2 separate regions of the Homo sapiens genome follow, and region 1 is linked to region 2. The links are contacts of gene promoters, found by promoter capture Hi-C in blood cells and fetal thymus (Javierre and others, 2016). All regions are on one chromosome and are shown on one strand. The core of a region is centred on a gene start or on the middle of the fragment in contact, and the rest is flanking DNA. Distances in the headings are between cores, read along the strand shown.

What was found. The method cuts DNA at HindIII sites, captures the fragments that hold promoters and counts their contacts. A CHiCAGO score of 5 or more calls a contact.
Region 1: a fragment that was not itself captured here is called in contact with the fragment with the promoter of SSTR1 in region 2 in 1 of 17 cell types (neutrophils); the score reaches 5.5 in neutrophils.

The regions. Positions count from the first base shown.
Region 1 is chr14:38,019,736-38,025,786 of GRCh38, reverse strand. All of the region lies in intron 3 of LOC105370456 (a long non-coding RNA gene), which reads left to right. Among named protein-coding and RNA genes, the nearest start is that of LINC00517, 120 kb to the right of the region's middle. The HindIII fragment of the contact is 3,430 bases long and covers 2,665-6,051 here.
Region 2 is chr14:38,205,176-38,212,206 of GRCh38, reverse strand. It overlaps SSTR1 (somatostatin receptor 1), which reads right to left and starts at 4,303. Exons shown (of 3, transcript NM_001049.3): 1 at 4,103-4,303; 2 at 3,598-3,764; 3 at 1-3,161. The coding sequence starts at 2,817. The coding sequence ends at 1,642. LOC124903303 (a long non-coding RNA gene) reads left to right here and starts at 2,920. Exons shown (of 2, transcript XR_007064117.1): 1 at 2,920-3,125; 2 at 3,931-4,992. RefSeq lists enhancers at 1,450-2,152, 2,153-2,856, 3,840-4,501. The HindIII fragment of the contact is 9,392 bases long and covers 1-4,647 here.

The DNA.
Region 1 (6,051 bases), core at 3,130-5,629, 190 kb after region 2:
CAAATATCTTTGTTAGTTTTGTGCCCTGATGATCTAATACTGTCAGTGGGGTTTTGAAGTCTCCCATTATTATTGTATGGTTATCTAAGCCTCTTCATAGGTCTCTAAGAACTTCTTATTTTATGAATTTGAGTCCTCCTATGTTGGGTGCATATATATTTAGGATAGTTAAGTCTTCCTGTTGAATTAAACACTTTATCATTATATAATGCCCTTCTTTGTCCTTTTTGATCATTGTTGATTTAAAGTCTATTTTGTCTGAAATAAGACTAGTAACCCCTGCTCTTTTTTGTTTTTTGTTTTCTTGATAGATCTTTCTCTATCCCTTTACTTTGAGCCTATGGTTGTCACTGCAGGTGAGATGGGTCTCTTGAAAACAGCATAAAGTTGGGTCTTGCTTCTTTATCCAACTTGTCACTCTGTGCCTTTTAAGTGGAGTATTTAGCCCATTTATGTTCAAAGTTAGTATGGATATGTGTAGATTTGATGCTGTCATCATGTTGTTAACTTGTCGTTATGTAGACTTGATTGTGTAGTTGCTTTATAGTGTCAATAGTCTGTGTACTTAAGTGTGCTTTTGTTTTGGTTGGTAATGATCTTCTATTTCCATGTTTAGCACTTCCTTATGGACCTCTTGTAAGTAGGTCTGGTGATAACAAATTCCCTTAGTATTTGCTTGTCTAAAAATAATTTTATTTCTCCTTTGCTTATGAAGCTTAGCTTGACTGGCTATAAAATTCTTGGTTGGAAATTCTTTTCTTTAAGGATGCTGAATATAGGCCCACAATCTCTTCTGGCTTGTTGGATTTCTGCTGAAAGGTCCACTGTTAACCTAAAGGGGTTCCCTTTATAGGTTACCTGCACCTTCTCTCTAACTGTCTTTAATATTTTTTCTTTCACATTGGCCTTGGAGAGTCTGATGACTATGTGTCTTGGGGATGGTCATTGTGTATTGTATCTTTCAGGGGTTCTCTGAATTTCTTGAATGTAAATGTCAACTTCTCTAGCAAGATTGGGGAAATTTTTGTGGACAATATCCTCAAGTATATTTTCCAAGTTGCTTGCTGTTTCTCCCTCTCTTTCAGGGACACCAATGAGTCATAGGTTTGGTCTTTTTACATAATCTTATATTTTTCAGAGGTTTTGTTCATTTTTATTTATTCTTTTTTCTTTATTTTTGTCTGAGTTGATTCAAAGCATCAGTATTTGAGCTCTGAAATTCTTTCCACAGCTTGGTCTATCCTGCTGTTAATACTTGGGATTATATAATAAAATTCTTGCAGTGAGTCTTTCAGCTCTATCGGATCCATATGGTTCTTTCTTAAAATAGCTATTTTTGTCTTTCATCTCTTGAATCATTTTAGTGGATCCCTTAGATTCCTTAGATTGCATTTCAACTTTCTCCTGAATCTCAGTGAGATTTATTGCCATCTAGATTCTGAATCCTATGTTTGTCATTTCAGCCATTCCGCTCTGGTTAAGAACCATTGCTGGGGAGCTAGTACAGACCTGAGTTTCAATGCCAGGCATATTGGAAGCCAAATTGTACAACACTGTTCTGGCCCCTTCTGCCTTTGTGTGCAATAGCAATGCTCAAGATAGGGAGAAGCCCAGGAAAGGAGAGATAAGGCCGAGTGTCTGAAATGTCAGGTATTTTTATTGTCTTGATTTCTTTGTTACACAGTAAATTGTTAATAACTTAGACTTTTTAACCATAGAGGTTTGACATCTTTATGTGAATTTTGGAAATGTATTAGTATGTCTCTAAAGTGGCATAATTCTGATTATTAAAACCTACTAATTTATTAATATATCTTTAATTTCATTAGAAGACAATGATAAGATGGAGTTTAACTCAAAGAAATTTTCATTAGTACAAATTTTACAAATATATCTCTATTCTGATACAAAGATCTACCAGTACAGAGAGGGATAATGACCTTTTTGTGGGATTTAGGAGACCCACCTGGGTCTTATAAAGTTTTCTGTAATGCTTAAGCCCTTTAACTATTGACTATTGACCAATTATGGTAATTGAAGATGTGACTTCTATCAATATAATTATAAGACTTTTGGATATAGCTAGAGTTAAGATTTAAAAAAATTTTAACAGTGACAGATGATGATATTTTTGTCCTTTACCTGATATTTATGTATCTTTTTAGGCTTGTTTTAATTTTCATGATAATATGGTACCATGTCTTTTTCTTTGAACCCTGAGATTAATAAAATGTATTCCTGGAGACTTCCTATTCACATAAGTGCTATTATCTCAAAATCTTGCTATAAGAAAACATCACAAGCCTCAATTCCTTCCTGCCCTTTTCTCCGTGTTACTTGTCAAACTGTTACTGGAAATGAGTATCTGACCTTTTTTTCTCCCACACAATTTCTAATAAAGATGCTGCCACACGGCTGTATCCTAGTAACTAGGTTTTATGCTGAGAAAGACTATTAAGAAAGAGTCCAAGATAGGGCTAATTTCGACCATCAGTAAAGGTAATTTGCTAGTCTTGTTCTTTTTCTTGATTTCTTTAATTTAGATGAATAACAGAGCTAACCTTAATGTTCCTTCTGATAAAAATACTGTCCTATAGACCCAAATTAGCATATTTGCTTTTGATTACCTTGCAAAACTCTATTTGCTCTCTTTTCTTAAAAGCTTAATAATTCATATAAGGCTTCAGAGGAATAAAATCACTATGTGCGGGTGAAAAATCCTAACTTCCCTGCTGAGGTTAAATGGCAGCCTTCAAAGAATTTTTTAAATAAATAATGGAAAGAGATACTCCATCTTGCCTCTGAACTGCTGCATAAGCAATTCCTTATCGCCGGAATTTGCAGAGACATAAGAAATCAGTAGTCATACAGGCAGGTACTAGAAACCAGGAAGCACCAATATCCTAACTGAAGGGCAGAGACTGGAACTGCTCTGCTTCAGGGCTTTGTGAGACTCTGGGAATCAATTCCTCAATTTTCAATGCAGTAGCTTGCTTTTGCACTCCTAAGGCATGAAATTGGATGAGCGGAAAAAATGCATTCTTTTCAGGCAGAACACAGGTTTAAGGAAACAAGAGGGGAAAATGTACAGGTGCCCTGGAGAAGGGACTTCTTCTCTTGGAACAGTCTACTGGGCAGACTAGGAAAGGAATCAGAGGAAGTTTGAGGGTGAGCTTGTTGCTGGGGTATGGCATGACATTTTTGCTTTGTAGATCATAGAGGAAGATGGGCACCACTGCCCCAACTCATTTCCTCCCAGCCTGAGTTTGGTATGCCTTTGTCACCTAAAGTCATGAAGGTTCAATCAGAATTCCAGTAGCATTAGGTTGTAAACACAGAAGTGGTTTCCCAAAGGCCAACCCATGTCCTAGTTGCTACTTGTACTTAATTCAAGCAGCTTTAGTGTCTCACTGGGCTGGCAGGTCTGGGAAGTCAGATCTGACATGCAGTAGGATGTGCTCATCATAGAAATCACACTTCTCCAGAGTAATTTTTAAGGTAATGTGAACTAAAGTTAATTTCTCAGAAATGTTGCAGGCCCTCTCTCTCTAGAAGTATACTTTTCAGTCCTCTAACTATGGTTGTTTTTCTTCTTTCAATGAAATCAATGCAACCTATACTAACTTGGGACAATGGACCCTGCAACATCCAGTATTTCAGCTGCAGTGGAGTTACTTTCCCAAATGCTTCAGGCATCTGTTTCTTCATTTCTTTCTTCTTTTGCTGTAAAAGAGCTCCATATGTCTTGTTTTAACACAATATGTTTGCAACCACAGCAAATTAAACAATGCCAGTTGAGAACCATATACTAAAATATGAAAATCTAAATCAAATTTATATCTTCACAATGCAATGTTTTCTGAACTTCGCTTGTGCACATACCATCATCACGATTTTTGTCATATCCACATTTTACCTATAGTATTAGTAATTTTCTTTTCTTTTAAGTTGACTCACATTTTTACCTCCATACATTAATTTCAAAGGAAGCTACAATAAAAGTAGCATATCACTCATCATAAACAAGAAGTAAATATAGATATGTAATCATTAAAACATAAAAATTTTGTCACCCCCCTGAAAATTATCTGCATACCATATTTTGAAAAATTATTGTACAGAGATTTATAATTTATAGATTTCTCTAGCATAAATTAATCCATTTAATTTTCACAAGAATTCTATGAATTTGGCAAGCAGATACAGTATAACCATCCACATTTTAGAGACAAGAAAACAAGGACTGGCTCTTTAAAAAAAAAAAAAAAAAAAAAAAAGTAGAGTTTTCATACCGAAAGAGAGCTTGCTGTTGTTTTTGTTTGAAGCCCATATTATCTAATTTTGTACAGTTTATGTGTGACTTTTCCAGGTTCGTTTGTGGTCTAAGAGTCTAAAATTCAAGACTACAGTTCTTCTAGAACACTGTTTTAATTGATTCCTTACTCACTTACAATCAAAAATCTTCTTGTGACTGTCCACATTTTGATTGCACTAAAACTGTGCCAAAATAAATATATTTGAAATAATTGATAATTTATGGAACCCTTAAAAACCTTCTTAACACAAAAATTTTATGTGGTAAGGTAGGTAACATTTTTCTATGCTGCAAATTAAGAAATCATGAAATATTTAAATAATTTGTCCCAAATCAAACATCTTTCTCTACAATTAGAAACACCAAAAATTGTTAAATTTGTGTGAAAACTCGAGAGGTTTAAGATAGCGCTTTATAAATCATATTGGAAAACAACACTATTATGTGAAATTCCTCACAGCAAAAATATGTTATAAAATGTCTTAGCGATTTTTTTCACTTCACTAATGAAGAGGTAAGTTGTAATCATCTAAAGCAAATAGTGATACTAAAATCACAGATAGATATTTAAGCAAGAGATAACACATACTCTTAGTCAAAGACACAGGAAATATTACATAAACATTCAACAAAAACATTCATAAGAAAAGAAAATTGGCATTATATCATTGAGAATTACATTCATTCATTCTACAAATAAAATATTCTTAAATTCCTATTGCTTCTATAATTCTCATTTTAGTTTATTTTCAATTATATAACATGGGCATTTTAAAATTTGTGATGATATAGAGGGATATTAAATATAAATAAATGTTTCTCCCTCTTTCCTTTCTTCATTCTCCCTCCTTTCTTCATTCTCCCTCTCCCCAGTCCTACTTCCTAATTTCATTCACCAGAGGTAATCATTATTAAATTTTTGTGTGTGTATATGCTTTCAGAAGTTTGATGCATATGCATATGCTTTGTTTTTAGGCAAACGGAATCTGAAAATACTTACATACACACTGTTTTGAATCATTTTTTCTTGATATCGATATCTTTTTATGTTGTTATATACCAACCTTTTACATTCTTTTAATTGTAACAGAGTGTTCCATTGAATATATGTGCAACCATTTATATTGCTGGTTGTCAGATTTTTTTTCTGTAAAGAATCATATGGCAAATATTTCAGGCTTTGTGAAATATTTGGTCTCTGTCACAACTATTCAACTCTGCCATTGATAATACATAACTGATGGGTATGGCTGTACTCTGATAAAACTTGACAAAAACAGGCTATAGGCGGGATTTGGCCCACAAAACATAGTTTATTGACCCCTGATCTAAATAATTAGTGACCTATAATATCTAAATAATAGTCACAGTATAAACAAGTTATTTTCTGTTTGTTGCTATTAAAAATAGTGCTGCTATGGGACTCTTTAATGTATTTGCATTTGCTCGATTAAGTTAAAATGAATACACCACAGAGTATTTAAAATATTGCTTTATGTGTGAAAAAACAATCCTGTATATTCTGGGCTTCTGTCCATCAAGTGCTTGTGTTCTCTCCATGGACAAATAGATATTTTCTGTCTGTGCTGTTTTATTTTTTTATCTGGCCACTTTCCTACCTTACTATTGGCTAAATGAAAAATCCAGAGACTCGAATCTATTATTGTATCTATTTCCTGTTTCCCCTGACTTGTGTTATCCAGGGATTAGTGACAAGAAAGTGTTATCCTTATGGG
Region 2 (7,031 bases), core at 3,054-5,553:
CTCAAATTATATATAGGGTGATGTTCCCCTATATATGTCTCCTGGAAAGCCAGGAGTTCAGGACTTTCCACTGTGCATGGAGAGGAGGATAACCCACATTATCATTTATGTATTATCCTAATAAGACAAACAAGAGACTATAGTAAGAAAAGTATGAAAAATCTCCAAACTTCACTCAACACAATCAAAAATAGAAAAGCTAGAGGAAAGGATGAGATAAGAGGGCCCAGCATTGAGGAGAGGCGTTGAGATGGCCAGGGAGTGGGGCAAGAGCTTGCCCCTACTTCCACTTCCATGCCCGCCCCCAGGGTCCCAAAGAAAAGACCTGGGGCTAGGCAAGCAGAGAAAAGGAAAGCAGAGACACATTTTCCAACACGACAAATAAATTAATAAATATATATGTTAAACAAGAAAATAACTTCTTAGGCACCGCTTGAAAGGCAGCAACCCTCTAGAGACCAGGCAGGCCCCACTCGGGAGCCTGCAGGTTGCGGCGACACCGCCAACACTGGCGGACTCTGAAGACGTCGCCCTAGGTCCCCCGCCCCTGGCGCCCGGTCTTTTGAGATACACTGGAGCAGGAAACCTTATCTATTGTTACTTTTAGGTCGGCTCCTCCGGAAACTTGGGTGAGGGAGAAAGCCAAGGCGGGCTGCAGCCCTGCAACCGAACCCCGAACCCCGAACCCCGGGGAAGGTGTGCCCTGCACTACCCTGCCCTGCCTAACGCAGACGCGCGGCCCGGGAGCGCCCAGCGCTTGGTCTTTGAAAACGCGCAGTAGGAGGGTGATTCCTATTACGCGCCCACACTCCGACCCCGCAATCTTATAAAAACTCCTCATTCGGCTTGTTCTCAGCTCCTTCTTTGCTCCAAAGGAGGGCTTGGGTGGGAACTCCAGAAAGCCTGGAGTTCGAAGCGCGGGACCTATTTTACTAAGCACCTGGCTCTACTCTGGGTGGAGTGAGAGTGGTGGTGGCGGGCGGGCGGCGAGAGGGGGACAGGGGAGGGCAGGGAAAGATGCACCTTCACCCAAGAGTAGGAGAAAAGACCAGCTGCTTAGATCTTTCTCAAGTCCAACTTTCCTTAAGGTAGGGCTGCGCAAAGGGAGAGCGGTCATTCCCGGGACTCCAGTAGGGGCACCAGACAGAACCTGGACAGCGGCCCCGCGCGGCTAGGGACTAACGCCGAGGGAAACCCGTGGCGGTATCCGTGGCTCAGCTTAAACAAACAGAAATAACGACTGGAGGGGCTGAGGATCAGAATGAGTTGTTAATGAGTTCGTGATCTGCACTGGCGGGACGGTGCGGAAGAAAGGATAGAAGTTGCAGGGTAGGGAAAATAGAAGGAGGGTCAGAGGAGTAAGCGCAGTGGAGGAAGGAACAGAAAGTGGGAGACCCAGAAAAAGGTAGCCTGAAAGCCTTCCCAGTTTATAAGCAAAGCTCTCACTTCTACCATTGTCGCGCGCCTTTCTTGGGTTCCTCCATCAAAGGCTGTCAGTGTCCTAGCCCCACGTTATCCCGACAGCACCCTGGCGCCCTGGATACCGTCCCTTTCGCACCCGGCCTTCCCTTCTCATTCTCCCCCTCTTTTGGCTCAGGGCCCCTGCGTGGCCCGGGCTCAGAGCCCCTGCGTGGCCCGGGCTCAGAGCGTCGTGATCCGGGACGTGCAGGTGCCATTACGGAAGACGCCGCCGGACTCCAGGTTCTCAGGTTGGAAGTCTTCCACACTGTAGGCACGGCTCTTGAGCGCGGTGGCGTAATAGTCAACCGGCTCCTCCGCGGCGTTGTCCATCCAGCTGAGGCATAGGATGCGTTGGAAAGAGCGCTTGAAGTTGTCTGAGAGAAAGCCATAGAGGATGGGGTTGGCGCAGCTGTTGGCATAGCCGAGGATGACCGACAGCTGACTCACCGTGGCGTCGTCCTGCTCAGCAAACACGTTGACCAGCTGCACCACGTAGAAAGGCATCCAGCAGATGACAAACACCATCACCACCATCATCACCATTAAGGTGATCTTGCGCTCCGAGCGCTTGCGCTGCTGCCAGCCGGCCTTGAGGGCCACCATGCGCATCTTAGCAATGATGAGCACGTAGCACAGGCAGATAGCCCCCACGGGCAGCAGGAAGCCCATGAGAAATGTGTACAACACGAAGCCCACCAGCCAGCGTTGAGCGGGCTCTGGCATGAGCATGTTGCAAGCCACCGTGCCGTCGCTGTTGGCCGCGGTGCGAGAGAAGACCACGATGGGCAGGATGACGAGCAGCGATAGCACCCACACGCCCAGGTTTACTACCTTGGCCACGGTGGGCCGGCGGTAGCGGGCCGCCTTGATGGGATGCACCACGGCCACGTAGCGGTCCACGCTGAGCACAGTCAGACAGTAGATGCTGGTGAACATGTTGACCGCGTCCACGCTGAGCACGAGGCGGCAGAGCAGCGCACCGAAGGGCCAGTGGCGCAACAACGTGGAGGTGACTAGGAAGGGCACGCTGAGCATGAGCAGCTCATCAGCAATGGCCAGATTTAGGATGTAGATGTTGGTGGCCGTCTTCATCTTGGCATAGCGCAGGATCACGTAGATGACCATAGAGTTCCCACACAGCCCCACCAGGCACACCACGGAGTAGATGAAAGAGATCAGGATGGCGCTGCCCTGGCCCTCGCTCAAGGTCCCGTTCTGGGACGCATTTCGCCCTGGCTCCTCCATGCCGTCCGCAGCGCCGGCCCCGGGGCCCCTGCTGCCGCCGCCTTCGCCGCAGCTGCCCGGGCTGGGGCTAGGAGAGGAGGAAGGAGAGGAGGCGGTGCCATTGGGGAACATCCCAGCTGAGGGGGGCCAGTGGGGCTGCCAGGGCTGGGGCTTTCTCCTCGCGCACCCGCCGCCTGCGCCCTCCCTCCCCACCCGACCGCTTGCCTGCAGCCCACAGCCGCCCAGCGCCTCCGGGTAGAGCGCAACCGCTGCGGGGAGCGCGGCTCCTACCGGCGCCGGCGGGGCGCACAGCCCAGCGGTTGCCTGGGCTCTGCAGTTTGCAGCTCCGGGGTGCCCGGGCACAGGCGACCGTGGAGAGGAGAGGCCAGGATGTGGGAGCACCGCACGGCACAGCCATTAACTGGCGCGGCTCTGGACTGGTAAATGATTAATAGGCACCACCAGCGCGTCAGCAGCTACGAAAAAAGGGGGTGGGGTGGAGAAAGGGAGGAGAGCACATAGGTGGCTTGTCCCCCCCGCCCCCCATTTTTTTCCTTCCCAGTCCTGCACTCTGCTCAACTTTAGTGGCTCCTTCCGGGGTTCCCTCGCAGCACCATCTGCCTCTTGCTCTCAGAGGAACCAAGAGAGTTCCTCGGCCTTACTGGAGGGCGGGTGGGAACCAAAGGTATAGATTCTGTCTCATTCCACTCCTCTCCTACCCAAAGCAAAGACTCAAACGGATCCATGAACATGGATGTCTGGAGTTCATCTCAGTTTCCCTCCATTGCTGCCCTTTTCTCTGGAGACCCCAGCTTCTCTCCCGTCCCGCAGTCCAGAACCCTAAATTCCCTCTTCCCACCCTCGCTTGCCTTGCAGCTCAGACCCGCCAGGGAAGTTCCGGGCCCTCCTTACCCAAAGTGCGCAACCTCCAGACTGAGACGTAGATGGTCGGTGCAAAGTGCATGTGCGGTCTGTTAGCAGGTTGACGATCTTCGCGCAGACCAACTCCCTTCTTTGCGCCTGGCCCCAGCACAGGTGCCCACGCAATTACTCTTAGAATCGCGGAAACTGGCCCTAAGCTGCGAGCGTTATGAGAAGAAAGGACAACCACCGTGCGTTAGGGGCTTCTGCGCTATAACACAGCAGGCAGCTTAGGCTATTGGGAGTGTTCAGGGACCTGAGTGAACCATTCGCAAATCTCTTAATAAAGCTCGTAGCGCTCAGAGCCCCCCGTGTCTCCCACAGGAATATCGACTGCAGAAACGAGGACGCGCAGCTGGGAGCTCTGGAGGAGCTTGAGACTCCCTCCAGAAACGTGCCAGGCGCGGTGTTGGGAATCCACCTAGGTGTTCACTCGGGAAAGATAAGGCTGCGCCGCTTGGAAGGGCTCCACCCGCGTCCCTGCTGTACTTTGTACCCTGGAGAGTTGGCGGGTTCTGGCAGACGAGAGTTTAAAGGCTTGGGCGGGCGGGGACGCCAGCTCTTCTAAATCCAGGTGAGGAGCTGCCGCCGTGCGATGACCAGACCTGTCACCAACCCCAGGAACGGCAGGGCGACATTCGAGTTTTTCCGGGAAGAGCTAGGATGTCAGCTCTTTCTGAGGCTTGATTTGTGAGCTGGCTCTGGGTCACGTGCCCAAACCATTAGGAGATATCAATGTAGGCAAGCCTGAAGCTCACTGACTTCATTTAAGAATCAAAACGGTTTTCCCGTAAGAAAGAATGTATGTTCCGTTATCAGGATTTTAAACGAACCCTGGGACTTACCACCATTCTTACTCTAGGGTCTCTTTGGCTTTCCAACTGTTCCTGTGGAAGGAAGAATCACACTCCATGCAACTTCCCTGTTCCTTTTCATAAACGTTGCTTTGCTCGGTAAGATCCCTGCAAGCCTTTATTTGAAACTAGCCTGTTCACAGGAAGAGTGACCCGCAGCAGCTTAGTGCTCTGCCTCCTTCAAGCTTTGCTGTCTCCAGTTTTTCCTTAGTTTCTCCTTCTCCTCAACCAGGCTGTGCCCGCTGTACTGTAAGTCTCAGTTTTCCTCCTCTCAGTAGAGTTTACTCCAAGGAGAGGCTAAACTCCTCATGGAGGCTATCTGTACCGGTCCAGAATGAAGAAATGGATGCAGAAATTAAAAACAAAAAAGTATATTTCCTAATGCCCTGTTGCTTTATCCAGGTAATCACTTACATATACTGCATGTGTTTTAGTTCCCAAAACTAATTGTCTTGAACAGGAAAGAATAACTTCTGTAGTGTGTTGATGATAGCAATCAAAGACTAAAATAAATGACAGACTTTCATAGGAATGTGTGCAATTATTAATGAGGAATGTGCTAGGATGGAATTTGAAATTTCATACGGCTGAAACTGTTTTAACCCATTATTTTACCTGAACAAATTGCCTTCTTTAAAGTGGAATGTACAATTGGTGTTTAGTTATATTTATTTTTCCTTTACAAATACAGCACATATGGAGAGAAAATAAATGTTCATTAAGTTAAAAGAAAAGAGAGTGGGTATTGTCCCAGAATCCCAGAAGAGCATTTTACTAGCCAAGCCTCATATAATGCCTTAGATGCCTCTGCCAATCACTGACTAAAGACACCTGACTATCTGTACCTCTGGGAGCTTGGATTTCAACAGTCATTATTTAGATGCCTTGGCTTTGATCATGGTTGCTCTTTGGGAAGTGTGTGATGGGAGTCAGTGAAAAACAGCTCTGTTGTTCAGAATTTCATTAAATTCACTTTCAGCTCATCTTAGGGAAAATTTCTCTCAATTTTGTGGCCTCATATACAAAAGAAGAAAACTTAAGACCTGACGTGAGAATGCTTTTTATTTTTATTTTTTTGAGATGCCACTTTTCACCCACTAGGATGGCTATAAGAACATTTTTAAAAACAAAAAATAAACGTTAGTGAGAATGTGGAGAAATTAGAACACTCATACATTGCTGGTGGGAATAAAAAATGATGCAGCAACTTCAGAAAAAAATTTTGGCAATTGCTTAAAAAGTTTAAAAGTTTAAAAGAATGACCATATGAGCCAGCAATTCCACTTCTATTTACTCCTCAAAATTGAAAACAGGTGTTTAATCAAAAACTTGTGCATGAACATTCATAGCAGCACTATTCATAATAGCCAAAAATTAGAAACAATCCAAATATCCATCAATTGCTGAATTAATAAATTGTGGTATATCCATACAATGGAATAGTATTCAACCATAAAAAGAAATGAAGTACTAATACCTGCTTCAGCGTAGACGAAGCTTGAAAACACTATGCAAAGGGAAAGAAGCCAGACACAAAAGGCCACGTGTGGCATGATTCCATTTATATGACATGCCCAGGGCAGGCAATACATACAGACAAGGTACGTTAGTGGTTGCCAGGGGCTGGGGGCAGAGGGGAAAGAGGAAGGACTGCTTAATGGGTATGAGCTTTCTTTTTTGAGTGGTGAAAATGTTCTGGAATTAGATAGTGGTGATGATTGCATAACATTGTGAATATGCTAAAAATCCCTGAATTGTACACTTCAAAAATGACTAAAATTATAAATTTTATATTATGGGAGTTTTACTTCAATTTTAAAAAGCATGAGAGAAAGACAAAGAGAGGGATTGAGATGGATATAAGCTATGCAGCATTATTAAATCTTTTCAGTTATGTATTTATTTTTAAATTATTATTATTATTATTATTATTATTATTATTATTATTATTTTGAGACAGGGTTTTGCTCTATCACCCAGGCTGGAGTGTAGTGGCACAATCACAGCTCACTGTAGCCTTGATGTCTCAGGCTCAAGTGATCCTCCCACCTTAGCCTCTGGAGTAGCTGGGGACTACAGGTGTGCCCCACGATGCCTGGCTAATTTTTAAGGTTTTTGTAGAGATGGGGTCTTCCTATCTTGCACAGACTGGTGTGGAATTCCTAGCTCAAGCAATTTTCCTGTCTCAGCCTCACAAAGTGCTGGTATTACCCGTGTGAGCCACCGTGCTCAGCCCAGTCATGTATTTCTAATTATTGTATTTGTGAACTAATCTATGAACAACAAAAACAAACAAACAAACAAAAAGGGTGGCATTTCTGGGCCACCAGGAAGGTGGATTGGGGTTGCAGCTATTTTCAAATTATATTAAAAGCAGGATCCCAGTTAGAGCGCTATCTTCCCCTCAGATCTCAATTTAATGTAAATATTTCCAAAGAAAAAGGAAAACTGATATGGGCATGAGATCACTTTAATTTGCAAAAAACGCAGCCAGTGAATAGTCAGGACTCAACAATCTTCTTGTCTTGTTAAAAACTTTTTAGGTTCACATGTCTAAAACCTTGAAAAGAT